Regions from separate parts of the Homo sapiens genome. Here regions 1, 2, 3, 4, 5 and 6 are each linked to region 7. The links are contacts of gene promoters, found by promoter capture Hi-C in human tissues and cell types (Jung and others, 2019). All regions are on one chromosome and are shown on one strand. Each heading gives the region's core, a stretch centred on a gene start or on the middle of the fragment in contact. The rest is flanking DNA. Distances are from core to core; before and after follow the strand shown. Region 1 has its middle 330 kb from the start of LRFN5. Region 2 has its middle 190 kb from the start of LINC02315. Region 3 has its middle 290 kb from the start of LRFN5-DT. Region 4 has its middle 420 kb from the start of LRFN5. Region 5 has its middle 360 kb from the start of LRFN5. Region 6 has its middle 270 kb from the start of LRFN5-DT. Region 7 holds the start of LRFN5 (leucine rich repeat and fibronectin type III domain containing 5).

What was found. Contacts are between HindIII fragments. The study calls those that stand out against the background at their distance.
Region 1: a contact is called between a fragment that was not itself captured here and the fragment with the promoter of LRFN5 in region 7, in 2 of the 25 tissues and cell types used here (H1 embryonic stem cells and dorsolateral prefrontal cortex).
Region 2: a contact is called between a fragment that was not itself captured here and the fragment with the promoter of LRFN5 in region 7, in 2 of the 25 tissues and cell types used here (H1 embryonic stem cells and mesendoderm cells).
Region 3: a contact is called between a fragment that was not itself captured here and the fragment with the promoter of LRFN5 in region 7, in 7 of the 25 tissues and cell types used here (H1 embryonic stem cells, dorsolateral prefrontal cortex, heart left ventricle and 4 more).
Region 4: a fragment that was not itself captured here is called in contact with the fragment with the promoter of LRFN5 in region 7 in 1 of the 25 tissues and cell types used here (H1 embryonic stem cells).
Region 5: a fragment that was not itself captured here is called in contact with the fragment with the promoter of LRFN5 in region 7 in 1 of the 25 tissues and cell types used here (adrenal gland).
Region 6: a contact is called between a fragment that was not itself captured here and the fragment with the promoter of LRFN5 in region 7, in 6 of the 25 tissues and cell types used here (H1 embryonic stem cells, adrenal gland, dorsolateral prefrontal cortex and 3 more).

What each region holds. Positions count from the first base shown.
Region 1 is chr14:41,939,594-41,942,746 of GRCh38, forward strand. No RefSeq gene overlaps it. Among named protein-coding and RNA genes, the nearest start is that of LRFN5, 330 kb to the left of the region's middle. The HindIII fragment of the contact is 4,826 bases long and covers 1-3,153 here.
Region 2 is chr14:41,146,092-41,149,084 of GRCh38, forward strand. No RefSeq gene overlaps it. Among named protein-coding and RNA genes, the nearest start is that of LINC02315, 190 kb to the left of the region's middle. The HindIII fragment of the contact is 5,817 bases long and covers 1-2,993 here.
Region 3 is chr14:41,300,863-41,304,038 of GRCh38, forward strand. No RefSeq gene overlaps it. Among named protein-coding and RNA genes, the nearest start is that of LRFN5-DT, 290 kb to the right of the region's middle. The HindIII fragment of the contact is 3,928 bases long and covers 1-3,176 here.
Region 4 is chr14:42,022,178-42,025,243 of GRCh38, forward strand. No RefSeq gene overlaps it. Among named protein-coding and RNA genes, the nearest start is that of LRFN5, 420 kb to the left of the region's middle. The HindIII fragment of the contact is 6,760 bases long and covers 1-3,066 here.
Region 5 is chr14:41,966,659-41,969,526 of GRCh38, forward strand. No RefSeq gene overlaps it. Among named protein-coding and RNA genes, the nearest start is that of LRFN5, 360 kb to the left of the region's middle. The HindIII fragment of the contact is 3,977 bases long and covers 1-2,868 here.
Region 6 is chr14:41,317,447-41,320,656 of GRCh38, forward strand. No RefSeq gene overlaps it. Among named protein-coding and RNA genes, the nearest start is that of LRFN5-DT, 270 kb to the right of the region's middle. The HindIII fragment of the contact is 6,864 bases long and covers 1-3,210 here.
Region 7 is chr14:41,605,075-41,608,243 of GRCh38, forward strand. It overlaps LRFN5 (leucine rich repeat and fibronectin type III domain containing 5), which reads left to right and starts at 1,802. Exons shown (of 6, transcript NM_152447.5): 1 at 1,802-3,169. The HindIII fragment of the contact is 3,229 bases long and covers 1-3,169 here.

The DNA of each region.
Region 1 (3,153 bases), core at 635-3,134, 330 kb after region 7:
TGCATTCATTTCCCTTTCCTTGCTTTCTAGTATTTATGGTTATCACCCTAGAATCTGGAGTTCTTTGGAAAAAAAATTGGGGTTTTCATCAAACTCCTATTATAATGCAAGTTATATCAGTGTCGGAGCAGCTTGTTTGTTCCTCAGGATATCTCATGTAAGCCCCTGCTTGTGTACCTGGTACTCAGCAGTGATTTGTGCTTTAGACTGCTGAAGAAAAGATGCAAGACTGCGCCATGGAAACTGGGAAAATCACTCTCCCTTTCAACTTGGTAAGCAATACCAAGATTGAAGAATTTGTGTCACAAGATGTACAAAAAGGAGGCAGTAATTATTATTTTTTAATTAAGAGAAGATCCTGGAAACAAATGCTAGAAAAGGTATGATTTCTTAGTTGTGACAGCAATAAAATTAATAAATATTAAGACTTAAATATAGCTATTCGATAACAAATAAATTTCATGAAGCACACAGAAAAATAAGCTGTGTTTAGTTTTAGATCAATCTCAGCACAATCGTGAAATATACCTTCCATCTGAATCTTTTATGTTTAGAAAGTATTTTTATATTTTCTAAAGATATTCAAAAAAACCTAGAAATGTCATTTTATTTAAAGTTTGAGGAATGGGTGTCTGACATTCAAATCAGAGAGATTAACAAAGGGGTTTGCGACTGCTGAAAAGAAAGTTTCTGGAAGCCAGCCTTTCAATTGTGAGTAGTATTTGCCTCATTAGATCATAGAATTCAAGTAAAAGTATATTATAGGCTTCATTTCATACATAGCATAACACACAAATTTACTTAATATGCATTGTTTTCTTCTAATTCCCCCTAATCTATTCCCTTTCTAAGTCAAATGTTTGCATAACCGCACTAAGGAAAATGGTTATTTGCATATAAGCAGAAGAACAGTGACATACAATATAAAAACAGTAAAGTTAAGGCAACTATGCCTCTTTAAAAGTGCTATCCATTTCCGAGGCTCTCTCTGTCTTTCCTCTGATTTCACACAAATACACAACTCACATAAGAACTCCACGAAATAATTTTTATCTTCCTAAAATTGCTTATTACACATAAGAGACCTTCAAGTAGTTATTGTAAATTAATTGAATTGATCCACTCTGAAATATAAAAGTACTTTTAGGAACCCATTCATTAAGATATTACTCTAAGTCAATACGAGGAGACTTTGAAAAGCTTGTGGAAAAAGGAATTACAAGGTAAAAATGAAAAATATAAACTTTATTCCTCAACGTAAGCTTGATCAAGGTCATGATATTTTGTAAGTGATGCTATCAGCCATTTAGTTCATTCCTAAAGAACTGATGGTTCTGGGAATTTAACCATGTCAATGCAGTATTTTTACATTATTAACTGAAGAAAAATTGGTGCCTTTTAAAGTATTTTTGTTTGTTTGTTTTCTTTAAGATTAGGAAGCAAAAAGAAGTCAGAAGGAGCCAAATCAGGACTCTAAGGTGGATACCTTAGATAAGGTGGATTTTTTCCCATTGAAAATCTTGCAAAATGGCCCTTGTTTGACGAGAGTAATGAACGGGCACATTGTCATGGTGGAGAAGGACTCCCTAGTGAAGTTCTCTTGGGCATTTTTCTGCTAACGCTTTTGGGTAACTCTCTTAAAATGCTCTTGTAACAAGGAGATATTATTTTCTTTGGCCCTCCAGAAAGTCAACAAACAAAATGACTTGACATCTCAGAAAACGATTGCCATCATCTTTGCTCTTGGCTGGTTCACTTTTGCTTCGACTTGACTACTTCCACCTCCACATAGCCATTACCTTGATTTTGCTTTGTCCTCAGAATATTACCGTTAAAGCCATGTCTCATATCCTGTTACAATTTTTCAAAAATGTCTTCAGGAACTTAATCCCACTTGTTTAAAATTTGCATTGAAAGCTCTGCTCTTGTTTGCGGCTGATCTGGGCACAACAGTTTTAGCATTTGTTGAGTGCAAAGTTTGCTCAGCTTTAATTTTTCAGTCAAAACTGTGTAAGCTAAACCAGTTGAGATGTCAAGGGGTTGGCTATAATTTCTGCTGTTAATCATCAGTCATCTTCAATTAGGGCACAAACAAGATGAATTTATTCCTTGCAAATTGATGTGGATGGTCTGTCTCTGTGGATTTAATCTTCAACATCATCTCATCCCTTCTTAAGACAAGTTACTCATCTGTAAACTGCTGATTTCTTTGGGGCATTGTCCTCACAAACATTTTGTAATGCATCATGATTTCACCATTCTTCCACCCAAGCTTCACCATAAGTTTGATGTTTGTTCTTGCTTCGATTTTACCAGAATTCACGTTGCTCCAATAGGAGCTCTTTGCAAACTGATGTCGTATCCTTCTTAAGGCTTCAAGCTACTTCCTGTTCAGGTATGTTGTAACAAGCTAGGGTGAGTTTAATGCAGAAAGATGGAAAGCCATGCAGAGTTTCTTATATGTGTTTTCCGTCAGGTTTTTGAAGTCACTTTGCATAATAAAAGCCTAAAGACTAAGACAAAATTTTGCAGCATATTTTTACCATTAAAATATATTTTTTAATTAAAAAAATAAATGTTTCTCTATTATATATGACAAAATATTTATTAAGCTATCAGAGGTGATGAGAATAGAGACACATAGCTAAAGAGGAATAAAAGTAGAGTTAAGAAGAAGGAGAGATATTTTAAACATTAGATTATAGTAACATGAAGAGTAAACAAACAGCAAAATAATTAGCTGAAACTGAATCATTATTCTTTTAATTGTATGTTATGTGGATTCTTTTAATTGTATAAGTATACATAATACTTTGCATTCAAGAGTGAAGCACTTCCTTTTTTTTCCCTCAAAAATGACAATAGTTCTAAACAATGGAGAAGCTAACATATTTTTTAAGCAATTCTTCTGGAGTTATGATTCTCAGCAGGAGAGACCACTCTAGATATTAATTTTTAGAAATAAACTATATTTAAATAATTATATAAAGATTTAGAAATTATACCTATAGAATAACTATAAAAACTGAAATTTAAGAATAATATCCCAGACCGGGCGTGGTGGCTCATGCCTGTAATCCCAACACTTTGGGAGACTGAAGTGGGCAGATCAAGAGGTCAAGAGATCGAGACCATCCTGGCCAACATGGTAAA
Region 2 (2,993 bases), core at 153-2,652, 460 kb before region 7:
TTTACGAACTGTTGTATAACACATTTTCCACAAAATCTAATGATGTATAGTAGTACCCCCTTATCCACGGGGAAATCCCAGTAGCTGGCTGAATCTGCAGTTAGTACTAAACTTTATATATTCCGTTGTTTTTTCAACGTGATAATCAAAGCAAATAAGTAACTAATGGGCTGTGTATACAGCATGGATAGGCTGGAAAAAGATGATGATTCATGCCCCAGCTGGAACAGGGCAGGATAGTGTGAAATTTCCTTATGCTACTCAGAATGGTGCAAAATTTAAAACTCATCAATTGTTTATTTCTGGAATTTTTAATTTAATACTTTCAGATAATGGTTAATCAGGGGTAAATAATAACATGGAAAGCAAAACTGGGGATAAGGAGAAGACCACTGTTTAACAACCCACATGAAATACGTGGTTTGGGAATTCGGATGAAGCATGCCAGGGATAGTTTGTGCCTGTTTCCCAATGTCTGGGACCTCAACTAGAGAACTCAAAGAATGACAGTGACTCAATAAGATGAGAATGTGACCTCTCCATGTGGCCTGGGCTTTCTTTACAACATGGTGAATGGGTTGAAAGGCACCTAAAGAAAGACAAAGCTTACCTAAAGTCCCACTGGATTATCATATAGCCTAATAAACTAGTGACTTAGGCCACATTTTGTTCATTAGTACCAATACACTAGGGCCAACCTATATTGAGGAGAGGGGAGAAAGACTCCATCTTTAAATTAAAAGAATTTGAAATAATTTAGACACATCTGTAAAACTGTCACATTTATAAATGCACAATAATTTATATCCGTTTATGACCACGCATACCATCATTCTAATTGTTCAGGAAGTTCTTGACCAGGATGTCTGAAAATCCAATAAATAACTCATCTTTTGTTTCAGAAAATACTTATAAACTGATTTGTATGGGCAAATTCCTTGCTTATCTGAACAGGTAGAGGACATATTAGGAAAATTGTCTTCATATCTGGACAGATAGTTTATCAGGATTCTAGTTTTATTATCCTCATTTCACTGAGTTCACCAGTCTTAAACACCATGTCATAAACCTTACCCAACTGCAATCAATATTCTCACTTCAAAGACCCTCTGTAAACAACTTGTTTTCAGACCCTAAACTTATACATATCTACCCTAAATTTACCCTTGTTAGACACTAATAAGCCTCTGTTTTGTGAAATTATCCCTTGGTGGGTCAAGTTTAGCAAATTTAGTTTTGTTTGATCAACAGGTTATTTTTATAGTCTTCGTGGAGGGGTCAATAGTTATCATTTCTGAATGTTGAACAGAGGTTTAATTGAGAAATTCTCATTACACAGCCAAAAACCCTTAACTCAGAAACACTGTGCTAACCGGAGTACCATTAAGCTTCCAGCTTGCAAGTCTTTCCAGAATAATGTGAGAAAGCCACATAGTAGGTCTAAATTCTGACTTATTTTCAGTGAGTTTCCAAATGTTGAGTTTATTTTGTCTCTTAGAAGAGATAATTATATTTGAAAACTGTTGTCCTTAGTGAGAACCTGCCTGGATTTTAACAATACTACTTTTTGTCTCCTTAATAGTTCTTGACTGTGAGTCTATAATTAGAAACTCATAGGAAGAGAACAGTTCTAGATTTAATCTTTCTTTCTCTTGATATGGTACCCAAGGCTGAAATATTCAGGGTAATCTATAAGAACTTAGTGAGACTTCCAACAATTTTGTTGTTGTGTTCCTGAGACTTGCATTATGAAATTTCACCTGGAAGATCTGTGGGTTTTATTGGGTCTTTTGTTGATGATGACAATATTTGACTAGGTTCCAGAAGCACAAATTTAGGCAAGCATACTCAGTAGCATTTTCTTTTCTTATGGAATCTTCTGGATCTGTTTCTTTCTGAACCAATAATCTGTTCCCTTGTTATTATATGTACAAATATCTCTAATTGGAATAATTTCATCAAGGACAATTTGAAATCACATTGGCCACTTTGGTGAAATTTTGACATGAAAACAATTGTTCACCGAGAGGCCTATTTGTACAACGATGGGAGCAACATTGAAGAGGGACCTCTTTGACTTATTTGTCCAGATGAAAGATCACTTACTTCAATTTACGTAGACTTCCATTTGGTTCTGCACCTCCCTGATTATTTGTTACTAGTTTTGTTTTTGTATGGCTTAAAGGAATTCTCAAGGACCCAGGTTGTTTTTAAATGGCTTACTAATTCTTATTTTTTGTGTGTTATTTGATTTCAAAATGTGTTTTCCTGCATTTATAGCATCTTCTCTCCTTGCAGAAGGAATATAATTATTAGTTTTTTGTAATTTCTTACTTGCTTGTAGCAGGCTTCCCCTACTTCTCCTTTATGCTTATCTTTTCTCATTTCTTTCTTCTTCTGGAAAACTTTGAAGATTAACTGGTCATATTAAAATGTTTTGTTACTAAGTGTTTAATATCAAAAATTTAGTCTGAATATACAGTAAATAATTCCAAAAGAAAATAAAAAATAAATTTAATGGTTTTTTTATTCTTTAAAATGTTTGTTTGGTCTGGATGGATGTAGTGGCTCATACCTGTAATCCCAGCATTTTGGGAGGACAAAGCAGGCAGATCACTTTGAACTCAGGAGTTTGAGACCAGCCTGGGCAACATGGTGGAACCCCATCTCTACAAAAAAATTTAAAAATTAGCCAGGCGTTGGTGGCTCATGCCTGTAGTCCGAGTTACTTGGGAGGCTGAAGCTAAAGAATTCGTTGAGCCTAGGAGGCAGAGGTTGCAGTGAGCCCAGATTGTGCCACTGCACTCCAGCCTGGGTGACAGAGCTAGACTGTCTCAAATAAATAAATAAATAAATAAATAAATAAATAAATAAATAAAAAAGTTTACTTGTTTGTTATTATTCACTTGCCAAAAGTATTAACTCAGGAAAAGAAAAGAAAATAGATTCAACTATAAGTTTAAGTAATGTTCTTGATTTCTAGGTTACAGGAG
Region 3 (3,176 bases), core at 297-2,796, 300 kb before region 7:
CATACAGTATCTTTTAAAATATTAGGAAGAGCCCAGCTTAGAGAATTATATCCCTTCTTGGAAGTAGACTTAAACAAAATGAAGCACTGCCAAAATCCAGATTAATGACTTGTGATGTGATTCTGTGTTAACTGCATCAACCAGGCAAGTCCTCTAAACTTTACTTGTATATTAAAGGAAAAAAAAAATACCACTATATTAGGCCATTATAGAGTTTTAGATAGAGAGGAGAGAAATAGAAATCCCCTCACCTCCCTTCAGGGAGGAACAAAGCAGGTAGAAAAGGGAATGTTGTTGAGGTATCTTTAATAATGCGATTATGTAAATAAGCAGAGTATGTGTGGCAGATTGTATTGTTTAAAATGTTTGCTGCCCCTCTCCCTGTGGAAGGATTCTGTATATCTGACCAACTGCCATCAAGTTTAACTATGAGACTTGCTTTAAGCAATATAAGTGAGCGTAAATGTTGTGTGAGAGCCATCAGAAGCTTCTGCTGTAATGGTGATGTGGGGCAGAGCATTGGCATTTAACCTAAAGAGGAAATTAACATTTTTCTTTAAGTCACTGAGATTTGAAGATTAGTTTTTACAGCAATATAATTTAGCATATATGATATTGTTTATCACTTTTTGCTAACCTCGGCACTGAAAAAGACTCCATTTAGCACTCATCTCATAGTATAAATAGGAGAAATAAACTTTCAGAAAAAATAATTAGTACATTCAGAAAAGTATCCTTTCTTATCAAAATTTTGAGTAGGCTCCCAGGAAAACCTACTTACAGGATGAAAGGAAACAAAGACCAAACAATGTGCCCCTTATCAGAGGACCAGTGTCTTGGAAATCACTCAGTAAGACAATAAAAAGTAAATAGAAATTAATATATAAACTTCGAGGGAGAAATAATTTTATAATTTTATAAATTCAGTTGTATTTCTTATTTGTGATTCATTTATCAATGGAGCTCATATTTAGTTTTTTTCTTACTCTGTATGCCCTTTAGACAACACACAATGTATATTACTACCCATAGGTGAATGGTTCTAGAGCTAGTTTTTACTTTGTCTTTTATGTTTTAGACACATATAAACTGCTACTAAATATCTCTATATGATATTCCAAAGGCAATTTCCTTTGTGAGTAGTAACAGCATTCTTCTAATACTTAGACCAAAATCACAGGAGTTATTCCACGGACCTCTCCCATTCAATTAATGGTTAATAAATCCATTTAATTATATTTATTTAACCTTCCTCTGATTAGAGCTTCTATTGCCCATAATCCCCAATGTTTCACCTGTATTGTTACATTCATATTTTAGTTTCTTTACCTTTAGGCTCACTACATATATATCTATCCTCAACATAAGCAAGTGAAAGGTCTGTCAGAAATGTAAATTTAACCATATAAGTGCCTCTTCTGTTTCTAAACTTAGTAAATCTCCATTTACCAAAACAAACGATCAAACTTTGCAGCACATAATTGCAAGCTTTCATGATCTTCTTTCTTTATTTCTCTGAAATAATTTTCTACCTCTTCCTTCATAGGACCTACATATTTACCATTCACTTGCAAAATACTTCATCATAAAGCACAGACTATATGCATATATGTCAAAATACGGTAAAAGAATACTCAAGAATACTAAAAGATAGTATTTCTTCCATATTTAATTGTAAAGCATTTCACTTGTAATCTTCAGCAAGTTTGTTTCAGTTACTTGTTTGTTTTCTCATGACACTGATCCATATGGTATCAGGACAAAGAAGCTAAGTACTGATAGTCCCTGACACCATGAAAAATAATCTCAACCACAAATAATCAATCTATTCTCATTGCACATTGAAGCAGATTTCAGAAGTGTGTTTTTCCATAGTGTCTATACAGATACAAAAATGTGTTGTTGTTTCATTGTATGTGCACACAAAGCTTGCGGAATACAGTTTTTTTAAAGCATATTCCATTCGTATCTTATAAAGGTGATTAATTTAAACTTACAAAATATTTTAAATGAATGATTCAAGTTGTACACAAATAAAAAATTTAGGAGAAGTGGCTTATATATGTGCCTCAAGCTTAAGAAACAGCTCTCTATTCTCATTGTTCGTCACAACAGGGGGTTGCAATGGATGAATGGCTTTGAGATCACATTAAATGCCTTGAAGCTTCATCCAGATGCTAGAATAAAAACTTAGACAACATATTCCACTCTTGTGGAAATCAGTCCTTTACAAATCTAGGTGCAAAGATTCACTGCAGGGTATTAAAAAAAACCTGCAGAGCCACTGGACCAGTTAATGATGTCTCCCTCTTCTTAATCATAATTTTAATCATCATAAAACTATAAAGCAAGAATTCAGACAACAGTAAGGGAAAATAAATAAATGCATTTGATTATGTTTCAGTCTTCTGAATCCTGACACACAGTTGAAATAAATGTGATTCTTACGTTTCCATACACATTAACAACAAAAGCAAGTAATGGCAGTAATTTTGCCTATTATGAGAAAGATAATTTTTTTAAACTCCTCAAAATCAGATTCACCTTTTGCTCTGTCTTATATTAACAAGTCTTTGTTCTTATATTTTGAAAACTGTATTTTCTAATATGTAAAGGTAATTTATCTTGTTTTTAATATTTCCTGGATATGCATTTTAGGTGAAAATATTTTGTTTTATTTCTCAATAATTATAAGCAAAATACAATTTATTTTTATTCTCCCATTTCATTATTGAACCTGTGCTCTAGTGACAACAATTAATTTTAATACTCATCTAGGCAAATCTGTCTCTGAAAATTAACCGTTTTATTGTGCAATATCATTATCACATCCCAAAAGCAAACAAATTATTTTTTCTGAACTGCATTAGTGCTTCTTCTCCATTCAGTCGAATAATTGAGTTAATGTTGCAATACCTCAATATTTATTGAGATTGCCTCAACTTGCAGGGAGGCCATCGACTGTTTGAAGCCCCAGATTGCATTGAGCATGTTAATAAGGAACAGAGCAAAAGAGAAATATTGACAAAACAAAAATAAAAATAAAACAAAGAAAAACAAACAAAAAGGTTAAAATGTTTTTATACCCTGCATAAGTAAGAGGGTAAAGGAGAGATAAAAGCTACAAACACAAGTTTCTGGAAACAGTAGTTTGTACTATTTCTCCTGGTTTTTTT
Region 4 (3,066 bases), core at 552-3,051, 420 kb after region 7:
AGTCTTTTAGGAGGTAGCAGATGGTTAAACACAAATAATTCTTCTTTAGGAAAAGTAGGACATTTAATTTATTAAAGAGGTTTTTAATGAATAATTTGGAGCTTCATAAATGTGCAGCAAAGGCAATTGGTGCTGATTCAGAGACAACATTCTGCAAAATAACATTTCATGCAAAATAACTTTGGAACCTTGGGGAGGAAATGGAGGCCATTAATAAATAGAGTATGGTTTTTCTAGCCAATGATGGTAGCAGAGGGTCAGAAAATCATGTTAATTGTACAGGAACTATTCAGTGCACAATATTGTATACCAAGATGTTCTATCTCCTGATGAGGCACATCTTCCTGTGAACCTCTGAAGTAGACATACATTAACTTTGTTTATTAAAACAAGATATCCTGATGCTGAGTAACTTGCTGGTGCTAAAAAAATTATTACATTTCCTGTGTGCCTGAAATCCTCCAGAGTAGCATGGCTATTAAAGGACAAGTGCTCTTTTAACAAATGGAATATGACCTAGGATAACATGCCAATTATTATTTAATTGCTATAGAAACATTTTTACATGTTTTGGATCATTCCCTTCATACTCATGGAATACTCATGGGATCATACTCATGGAATCATGGAATACTCATGGAATCATACTCATGGAATACTCATGGAATCATACTCATGGAATCATTCAACTCAAAAAAAAAATAGCAAACCTTTGTTAACCATGCAAGGAATTCTTTTATAATAAAATTAGCAGTAGAATTATTGGGCCTTCCAGTCTAGTGATTTTCAAAAGTTGGGCTTCATGGTGCCATTACAATCTTGAAAGTTACTGAGGATGCCAGAGAGCTTTTGTTGATGTGAGTTACATCTAGTGATATTTGCAATATTAGAAATTAAAATGGGCCGGGGGTGGTGGCTCACGCCTGTAATCCCAGCACTTTGGGAGGCTGAGGCGGGTGGATCACCTGAGATCAGGAGTTCAAGACCAGCCTGGCCAACATGCTGAAACCCCGTCCCTACTAAAAATACAAAAATTAGCCGGGCATGGTGGCACGCACCTGTAATCCCAGCTACTCCGGAGGCTGAGGCAGGAGAATCACTTGAACCCGAGAGGCGGAAGTTGCAGTGAGCCAAGATCACACCATTGCACTCCAGCCTGGGTGACAGAGCGAGACTCTGTCTCAAAAAAATAAATAAATAAAATAAATAAATAAATAAATAAAAGATATTAAAGTGGATATTTAAAAAATTTAAGTGACATCAATGAATGTTAACATAGTTTTAAAAATATACCTATATTATAAAAAGAAATAGAAACTGATATTATTTTGCATTTAAAAAAGTCTTTCTAATGTTTGGCTTGAGAAAACATATGGGAATATCAGATCTATTGGTGCATTCATCCTGTTGCATACTATATATCATGTAACCTCTGAAAAAATATCACTGTGCAAACATGCAAGTAAAAAAGCAAATAATCTCTTAGTACTAGTATAAACATTGTTTTAACCTTTGGCACCTTTAAATTTTCTCAGAGAACCTCAAGGGTTTCCAGACCACATTTAGAAAACCACTGTCCTAATTTTATGCATTTAATGACTGTAGAACGGCACTACTGTGTAAGATCTCTAAGACTCGTGTTATCTATTTAAATATAAGTTGATTATAATTAAATAAAACTGTAAAATTTAGTTTCTTATTCTCACTAACCTCTTTTTAGGTGTACAGCAGCTACATGTAATTACTGGCTACTGTGTTGGGTAGCATACAGATTAAACATTTTCCTCACCATAGAAAGTTAAGTTGAACAGCATACTGCTCTATTCTTTATGATGTTTCTTTTCTTCTTCTTTTTTCTTTTTCTTTTTTTTTTTTTTTTTGAGATGGAGTCTCGCCTGTTGCCCAGGCTGGAGTGCAATGGCACAATCTCAGCTCACTTCAACCTCTGACTCCCGGGTTCAAACGATTCTCCTGCCTCAGCCTCCTGAGTAGCTGGGATTACAGGCACGCTAATTTTTTGTATCTTCAATAGAGATGGGGTTTCACCATGTTGGCCAGGCTGGTCTCAAACTCCTGACCTCATGATCCACCCACGTTGGCCTCCCAAAGTGCTGGGATTATAGGCCTGAGCCACGGTACCTGGCCTATTTTTCTACTTTTTAGGAGAGAGTCCTTCCCTTTGGTCAGTGTCCGTTCATTTTGGCTGCTGTTAGAGAATACCATAAACTAGATGGCTTATAAACAACAGAAGTTTATTTATCACATTTGTGGAGGTTAGGGGGTCCAAGACCAAGGTGCCAGAAGATAAACTATCTGATGGAGTCCTGTTTCCCAGTTCATAGACAGCAGTTTTCTTGATGAAACCTCACTTGGTGGAATGCAAGGAAATTCCCTTGAGTCATTTTTTAATAGGAGCACTAAATCCATTTGTGAGGCTTCCACTCTCATGACTTAATCAACTCCCAAAGGCCTCATCTTTAAATATTATTATATTGGGGATTGGGTTTCAACATATAAATCTGGGGGACAAAAATCTTCAGTTTATAGCATTTTAAGAATAATCCTCTTTGACTCAGTGGTCTGCCTTCCAGGATGACTGGGGCAAAAGTTTCAACTTCTGAACTTGCTGAAGCAGCAACCCTGCTCCCTCAGCTTTGCTGGCTAGGGCTTGGACTCTGACATAGTTCTGATGTGTGTCCTGGCCCAAATTGCGTGTTGAACTGTCATCTCCATTGTTGGAGGTGGGGCCAGGTAAGAGGTGATTGGATCATGAGTGTAGATTTCTCATGAAAGGTTTACCACCATTCCACATACTGTCCTCACGATAGTGCGTGAGTTCTCACAAGATCTGATCATTTAAAAGTGTGTAGCACCTCATTTCTTATTCCTGCTCTGGCCACGTGATTTGCCTGCTCCTGCTTCACCTTCCACCATGATTGTAATTTTCCTGAGGCCTCCACAGAAGCCCAGTAGATGCCAGCAGCATGCTTCCTGTATAGCCTGCAGAACCATGAGCCAATTAAACCTCTTTTCTTTATAAATTGCCCAGTCTCAGTTATTTCTTTA
Region 5 (2,868 bases), core at 212-2,711, 360 kb after region 7:
ATTTGCTTGGTAGATCTTCCTCCATCCCTTTATTTTAAGCCTATGTGTGTCTTCACATGTGAGGAAGCTCTCCTGAATACAGACATGGGTCTTGACTCTTTATCCAATTTGCCGGTCTGTGTCTTTTAATTAGGGCATTTAGCCCATTTACATTTATGTTTAATATCGTTATGCTTGAATTTGATCCTGTCATAATGATGTTAACTGGTTATTTTGCCTATTAATTGATGCAGTTTCTTCATAGCGTTGACGGCCTTTACCATTTGGCATGTTTTTGCAGTGGCTGGTACCAGTTGTTCCTTTCCATGTTTCGTGCTTCCTTTAAAAGAGCTCTTGTAAGGCAGGCCTGGTGTTGACAAAATCTCTCAGCATTTGCTTGTCTGTAAAGGATTTTATTTCTCCTTCACTTATGAAGCTTAATTTGGCTGGATATGGAATTCTGGGTTGAAAATTCTTTTCATTAAGAATTTTGATTATTGGCCCCACTCTCTTCTAGCTTATAGGGTTTCTGCCAAGTGATCTGCTGTTAGTCTGATAGGCTTACCTTTGTGGGTAACCTGACCTTTCTCTCTGGCTGCCCTTAACATTTTTTCCTTTATTTCAACCTTGGTGAATCTGACAGTTATGTGTCTTGGGGTTGTTCTTCTCAAGGAGTATCTTGTGGTGTTCTCTGTATTTCCTGAATTTGAATGTTGGCCTGCCTTGCTAAGTTAGGGAAGTTCTACTGGATAATATCCTGAACAGTGTTTTCTAACTTGGTTCCATTCTCCCCGTCTCTTTCTGGTACACCAATCAAACGTATATTTCTGTTTTTCACATAGTCCCATATTTCTTGGAGGTTTTGTTCATTTCTTTTTGCTCTTTGTTTTCTAATCTTGTCTTCTAACTTTATTTCATTAAATTGATCTTCAATCACTGATATTCTTTCTTCCACTTGATTGAATCAGCTATTGAAGCTTGTGCATGTTCACGAAGCTCTCATGCCATGGTTTTCAGCTCCATCACGTCATTTAAGGTCTTCTCTACACTGTTTATTCTAGTTAGCCATTCGTCTAACCTTTTTTCAAGGTTTTTACCTTCCTTGCAGTGAGTTAGAACATGCTCTTTTAGCTCAGAGAAGTTTGTTATTACAGACCTTCTGAAGCCTACTTCCGTCAGCTCATCAAACTTATTCTCTGTCCAGTTTTGTTCCCTTGCTGGTGAGGAGCTGTGATCCTTTGGAAAAGAGGCACTCTGTTTTTTGGAATTTTCAGCTTTTCTGCTCTGGTTTGTCCCCATCTTTGTGGTTTTATCTACCTTCAGTCTTTGATGTTGGTGACCTACAGATAGAGTTTTGATGTGGATGTCCTTTTTGTTGATGTTGATGCTATTTCTTTCTGTTTGTTAGTTTTTCTTCTAACAGTCAGATCCCTCAGCTGCAGGTCTGTTGGAGTCTGCTGGAGGTCCACTCTAGACCCTGTTTGCCTGGGTATCACCAGCGGAGGCTGCAGAACAGTAAATATTGCCACCTGATCCTTCCTCTGGAAGCGTTGTCCCAGAGGGGCACCCACCTGTTTGAGGTGTCTGTTGGCCCCTACTGGGAGGTGTTTCCCAGTCAGGCTACACAGGGGTCAAGGACCCACTTGAGGAGGCAGTCTATCTGTTCTCAGAGCTCAGTCGCCTTGCTGAGAGAACCACTGCTCTCTTCAGGGCTGTCAGACAGGGACATTTAAGTCTGCAGAAGCTGTCTGCTGCCTTTTGTTCTACTATGCCCTGCCCTCAGCGGTGGAATCTATAGAAGCAATAGGCCTTGTTGAGCTGTGGTGGGCTCCGCCCAGTTTGTGCTTCTGGGCCTCTTTGTTTACACTGTGAGCTACTCAAACCTCAGCAATGGCGGACACCCCTGTCCCTGCCAATCTGCAACATCACAGGTCAATTTCAGACTGTTGCGCTAGCAGTGAGCAAGGCTCTGTGAGCTTGGGACCCACTGAGCCAGGCACAGGAGGGTATCTCCTTGTCTGCAGGTTGCACAGTATTTGGTCAAGAGTGTACAGTTTCTCCAGGTACAGTCTGTCATGGCTTCCCTTGGCTAGGAAAGGGAAATCCTTCAACCCCTTGAGCTTCCTGGGTGAGGCAACACCCTGCCCTGCTTCAGCTCACCCTCCGTAGTCTGCACCTACTATCCAACCAGTCCCAATGAGATGAACCAGGTATTTCAGTTGGAAATGCAGGAATCACTCGTCTTCTGCATCCGTCTTACTGGGAGCCGCAGACTGTAGCTGATCCTATTCGGCCATTTTGGAAGCGCTCTCTTCATTCTTCAGGATGTTATTTTTTAAATGTCTAGCACTAGAGTTTCTTTGACAGATTAGATGGTGAATCCTGTTTCAATGCAAAGATCCTTTTGGATACACCTGCACTTCAGCATGAAACCTTTAATTATAAGCTTCATTCACTTGGCATAATGTTTTCTTCATTTTTAATAAATATTTTATTTTAGAGCATTTTTAAATTTACAAAAAAGTTGCAAAGAGGTTATATAAAGATTTTATATACTACTCATTTAACTTTCTCTATTGCCTTCCCAATTAGAATATAGTGCTTATGCACAGTTCCTTAATGCCTTTAATTTTAAAATTTACTTGGGTCAGTATATTTACCCCACATCTTTCAGTGAGGTTATTTTACACACTTACAAGGTTAGATGCTTTTGTAGCATTCTATATTATATCCTGGAATTCCCTGCTCTCCTACATTATTTAAAAATGTTTTTATACATTATGTTTTTATTTTTGGTGCTATAATATTCTATGGCTTTTAACAAAAGCATAGTGCCACTATCCATGATTACAGTGTCATATAGAATAGTTTTACTGTTCTGAAACATTC
Region 6 (3,210 bases), core at 141-2,640, 290 kb before region 7:
AAATGTTGCAGATTATTTGAAGTTATTTTGTCTAATTATTTATTTTTAGATGAAGTAAGTGAAAGAAAGAAAAACATAGTAATTTACCTAATGATAAAAAAGCCAAACTTGAAGACCACCAAAACCATGTTATGCCAGTTCTAATGAAGAATAATAAATCCTATATTTAAATTTTACAGTTGAAAAAAATTTTTTTGAAAAATACATCGTTAATTAAATTTAATTTTTCTCAAACACTTTGTCTTTCAACTGGGAGCTCTCTGAGAGCAGAGATTTTTGTCTGTTTTTTATACTTCCTACTTTCTTGATATCTTTTTTTATTCAACATGAAGAACAGAGGCTGGCATTAAAAAATAAGCTTTGATAGTTGATTCTCAAATGCATGAATATATAAGTAACCTTTGATGTCTCTGGCAGAATTGACAGCAAAAAAGGAGGATAACTTTTATTGGCACTTGTAAGTTAGGTACATAAGAGTTGGAAGTATATTGCATAGTACTTAAAACTTAATTTAATGTGAACATGTAAATTCAAGAGTATCTTTTCAAAACTCAAAAAGAATCATATTATTTGCTTGTTTGTTTTTCAATAATTTTTATTAATAATTCTAGTCAGAAATATTTTAGTTGCAAAGAATAAAAACCAAATCTAACCGGATTAAAATGTTTTTTAAACACCTAAACATTTTTTAAAAATGTTTAAAGCATATTAAAGTAGGGAATTCTCACAACATTCCAAAAAAGAGCTAACATTGGTATCTTGGGAAGTATAAAAATCAAGTTATCTCTAGGAACTCCAATGCCAAAAGTTCATCAAAGACATTCCCTATGCATCAGAGTTATCTTTCTTCAGTTACATTTTGTAATTTGCTGCTATTTTATCACCAGCCAATTCAGCCTCTAGATGTCTCAGTTCTATACTTCTCAGAAATATTTAGCTCAGCACAGACTAAATATTTCCACCATGTTCACTATGTGTCTACCTCAATCCAACGTTTACTTTCTTTGTGTCATCCATTGCAGTCTCTCCCTCTTCCCAGGGAGGTTTTAATATGAGAAGCGAAAGGTTAGTGGTGGCCATCAAACTGAATAACATCTAAAATTAAAATCTTGAGAATAAATTTTGAACTTCTTCAATTGTCTCCTGGTTAGCCTCAATCTACCATTTATCTGTTTACTTACTGTCTCTAGTTGCATTTCCCCATACTCCACACATACATGCATATTGCATTTGAGGCATAAGCCTATGCCTTGGCTGTGTTTCCCTCTGCTGGAATTGTTTACCCTTCCTTCCACTCAGAAAAATCTTACTCCTTTAAAGCCTCAGCTGAACTGTAACCTCTTCCAAATCAACAAGGAAAGTCCATTTCCACCTCCACTGGAATCCCTTGGCATTTTAATTATACTGTTCATATAGCTGTTCATGACGTGGCTGACTTTGTCATGGTCCCCATGAGAGCTCCATTCACGCAGGCATCAGCATAACATAATTCCTGGGCCTGTTGTCCATTTTTGTGCCTTTCCCATTTTTGTTAAAAGTTTAATTTTAAAAGCCTCATCATTATTTCCAATTGCTGTTTCTCCATTTTCTCCTCCTAAACAACATACAACTCTTCTTGACAAAGTTATTTACTAACATTACTATAAGTAACTGATACTATTGGAGTTGTCCAAAATGTAAACAATACATAAGTGGTACCCATAAGATATTACAAAAGAAAAATTTCTGACTGAAAGTAACTGTGTATGCTAAGTCAACAGAATTTTAGACATCATCAACTTTAATTACATTAGCTGCCCCAAACAATCACAACTCAGATTAAATTAGATGGTCTAACAACATGAACAGTTTTCCATTCTTCCTATTCTAAAAGGCATTTTAAAATACAGAAATTTTATTTCAAGTGTTTTCTGTCCTGGAGATTAATGTTTCAACAGCTAATTCATTCAGTATCACTTAACATATTAGTAAAAGAATTATCATAACCCCCAAAAACACAAGTTGGAAAACAATGCTTCTTTTTTTGTTAAATTTTAATATGTATTTGATACATGCTACAGATAGGGGTTTTAAAATGCTCTACTGATTGATCTTCTCTCAGAAACTTTAAACCAAAGTTTTATGCTATTAAGATTCTGACTTATATTCAAATAAACTAAAAGTAACCAAACATGCCATCAATAAGCCTAATAAGATCAGTATTAATTTTAATATTTTTCTTCAATTTTTTGTTCAATTTTTGAGTCAGATATTAAAAGTAGGAATAATATATGAACACTTCATTAACTCCTTATGCCATACATTTTTAACATTATATTTTTCTTTAACTAAATAATAGACCAAAAAGAATTAATAAAGTATTATTCCATATTGACAGGGAAAAGGCCACTGACTAAGCTACTCTTCCTTATTCAGTATTTAGTAATTATAGATTATGTAAAGACAGATAAATTGTTTGAAAGATTAAGAATTTCAATTTCTGCTTCTGGCTAGTATGCACATGGATTATCATGCTAAATATAACTGTATTTTATTTTTACCGTAAAGAATACTTTTCATTAATTATTAGGATCACTAATAAGTATGGCAAGAGAGAAATGGGAAATAAATCCATTAAAGTGTAAGGATTAATAAGGCTAAAAATGAGATTGACAATGACTCACTAAAATAAGGAGAATACATCCCCCCACTTTCAAACATTAACCTAGGAGTCCTCCATGAGCGATAACTGTTTCTAGGATAGGAATATCTACTTTTTTCCAACAGAAGTAAGCAGCATTCTCTCTTGAATATATCATCCACAATTTAGGACCTCTATACACCAGAGATTACATCAACAAAATAAAAACTTACCAAAAACATACAATGAACAAACTCTAATTAATGAGCATAAACATAAAAAAGCAGATCTAGTACCATGCCTAGATATTAGACATGTTGGAATATTTAAATACAGAATATGTAATAACGGTGTATAAATAAAAAAATGAAATAAAAACATGCAAAAAGAGGAGGCCATAAATATTGGCATCAAGATTAGAAAAATGAATAGAACACTAAAATATAAAAATGCAATAATTGAAAGTAAAAGACTACAAGATCCAATGTCAATGTACAATAAAGAACATAATTTTGACCATCACTCATGATAGAGATAGGCTATTTATATATATATATATGCAAACAAATGCTTTAAGACATCAGAATGGT
Region 7 (3,169 bases), core at 552-3,051:
ATTTTTTCTCCCTATGCCTTCGGAGTCTGTGGCTTCAGTTTGCTGCAGGTTCTCTCCGTGGACTTCTCAGAAACCTCAACTTTCCACTTCGAGGGACAGAAAGCTACAAGGAAAACGCTGATGGTTTTGGTGGAGATTCTCCTGGACTTCAGTGGTGTCCTCTGGTACATCTGTCCGCGGTGTCCCTTTGGTTTATTTCTGTGGTCTTCCTGCGCAGTCCCTCAGCGGCTCGGAGTTTGGCCTTCCAGCTCTCCAACTCAGATCCTGAGCCTCCTAAGCTCCCGCGGAGACCCTGAAGTCCCGGATCTGGCGCCGCTCGCCGACCTGGAGGGAGGCTGCACCGCTGAAGTGCAGTCTCGGAGCTGCGCTCCTCTGGAACAAAGCAGCCAGACGTGGCTTGAGTGGATTCCTAAGCCAAGGATTGGATCCGGAGTACCAGGGGCAGAGAGGGGGAGCAGAGGAAAGAAAGGAGATGTGAGGAGTTTCCACCTAAAGCACTTCACTCCTCGTGTTCTTCCCCGACAGAGATAGCTGTGTGGTTCTTCCTTACGCGTGGGTGCAGGTGTGCGCGCTTGGGGTGAGCCCATGGTTGTGCTCGAGTATACGGGCGCCTGTGCACCTCCAGGGCAATGGTAAAGCCTGGCAGAGCTCTTTTTGGAACAAAATGAAGGAGCTCCATATCCACGGAGGCCACCCGTATGGGCCTTTGCCAAGTAGGGCAGAAGAAGCCCTTGTTAGCCAGCTTCCCTTTGCAACTTCCTACTCTTCCTTTGGGTACAGACTGGTGTCTGGGCTAGCTAGGATCACAGCTGAGAGCGAAGGTGCTCTCAGTGTCCGAAGACCACGTGCTGGTGAACCCACAATGAGAAGCGAAAGGGTTTCAGGACTCTAGCAGAAAGGAAGAGCAAGATTTCACTCAGGGTTTCTTAGAAGAAAGAGTTAACTTTGCTCACTGGCTTTTCCAGGATGGAGGGAGTGGGGATAGGGTCGGGGAGAGAAGCATTGGGAGTCTTGTCGGAGTCTCAAGCAAAACCAGGCGAGGGCTCCGGGCAGATCCATTCCCGCAGGGCCCTGTCTAACCTCCTTTCCAGTCGCACCTCTTTCCTGCTTTAGACCCTGCGTCTGTGCCGGTGACCTTAGAGACTAGGTCTGGCTTATGAAGACTGTTGGGCTCCCTTTCTGCCCTTCACATAGTAAAATGTGACCAACTGCAGTATTCGTAATGTCTGATGCTGAGCTGAGTTGATTCCCAAATATAAATGTTCTTTTCAGAATCCGCTCCCATCTGATTAGTAAGCAAATCACCACCCACAACTAAGGGGACAGCGGAAGCCAGCCTCAGATGACTGAAACCCCCAAGTCAGTAGCTCTCCTCAAAATTTCCGGCGGGTTATTATAGATAATGACTTTTCCCACCGCCCTAAGCAGCCGAAGCTTGACTCAGTGATGATTCTCTCTATCCCGTAACTGCGAGGAAGTGGGCGATCAGCAAATTGCCCTTTTGCAGGAGGCTGGGGACGCCCCTGGAAGTTCGCTTTCATTCTCCAGGTTTTCTGCCTTTTCCCTTCCCCCTTCCTGCAACGCCCCCGCGCCTCCTCAGCCTGGGGATTTCCTGGCGCTTCGCCGGCCCTCTCCGCAACCCCCTGATAAATCGGTTCAGAACCAGTCTGGCTGGGAGGCCCGAGGGCTGACAGCAGCGGAGCGGCCCCGGCCGGGGTCTCACGGACTCTCGGGGTCTGGCCGACACGGCCGCTCCCGTCACTGCAGCGCGGGCTGAGCTCACGGCCGCGCGCCCGCCGCCGCCGCCGCCGCCGCCTTCATGCTGCAGCGCAGGGCTCAGTTCCACGCGGCCAGGAGGCCGCCGTTGCCCACACGCGACGCTTTGGGAAGCCCAGCTCCCGGGTCCGCCCCGGCCGCGGCCGCAGCCCCGGACCTCGGCTGCTTGCCTCGCGCCTGAACTGCGGACTCGCCCCAGCGCGGTGGCCAGCGGGCGGGGCGCTGTGTTCCGCGGCGCGCAGGGAGGCGGTGAGCGTGTGCAGAGCTGCCCGAACGGAGGACTATGTATGTGTGTGCGCGTGTTTGCGTGTGTTTGAGCGTGTTTTTCCTTCTTCCCTTGAGGATGTGAATTGTTTAGCAGCTGGCTGCTCCCTTAGGATCCTTGACTTTGGGGAGCTCTGGCTGTGAACACAGCCCACCCATATAATCCATTTTGCACGGTCCGTTATATCAGAAAAAAAAAGCGCAACTGGACGGGGGTGGGGCAGACCAACGAAACCTAGACAGACACACACACACTCAGAGGAGAGAGGAAGAATTGAAAGACTTGAGAAGACTTTGATAACCTCCCTGCTGGCCCTTCTGTGTTCCGGAAAGATCCTGGATGTTGGCTACCTTTTCAAGTCATCTTGGCATGTCTCTAGTGTTTTGTAAGCCGCTTTCCAGCTAGCTGCGTGTGTGTGTGCGCGCGCGTGTGTACGCGCGCGCCTATCTGATGCATTTGACTGTCTTTTATCCAACTGCCCAGAAGCAAATGTGTTAACTCGGCGATGCCCCTTCATGCCCGGGTTCTTGCAGAGCTCTGAGGACGCCCAGACCCATTTTCCTGGCTGGATTTGGAGCGGCTGCTGGGCTGTGGACCCAGGTGTGTGGATCGCTTTACCCAGAAGCTTGGAAAGCGCCAATATTAACCTGCTTCCAGGTACATCACAAGGTCAAGAGAGTGTCTTGCAGCCCTCTTGTTTCCGTGTATCTACACCTTCTTCTCTTGGCCAGAAGGATATTTACGTTTTGGTTCACAGCATTTGAAGCCAAAAGTTCAGCCCTTCGAACTGGTTTGCTATACAAAACAAAACAAAACAAATAAGGTAATGAGGATTGCTTATTAAACTGCTTAACAAAATCCCCGACTCTTCCTCAGCCCTTTCTCGGCTCCCTCCTCCCCACCAAAATGTCACCAGCTCTTGAATTACGTGGATTCGGGTTGGAGGAGAACTTGAAGGAAACGTGATTAAAGGGCTATGCGAGAACGCTCTCTTTGCTGCCCGCGGTCCGGTGGGCTTCGAAGCCAATCGTGAGAAGGACCGGTTCCCTCCGTGCTGCTTCCTCCCCGTGCAGTGCTGGGTGTGCGTGTGCGAGTGTGAGTGCAAGTGCGCGCGCGCCCGGGTGCGAG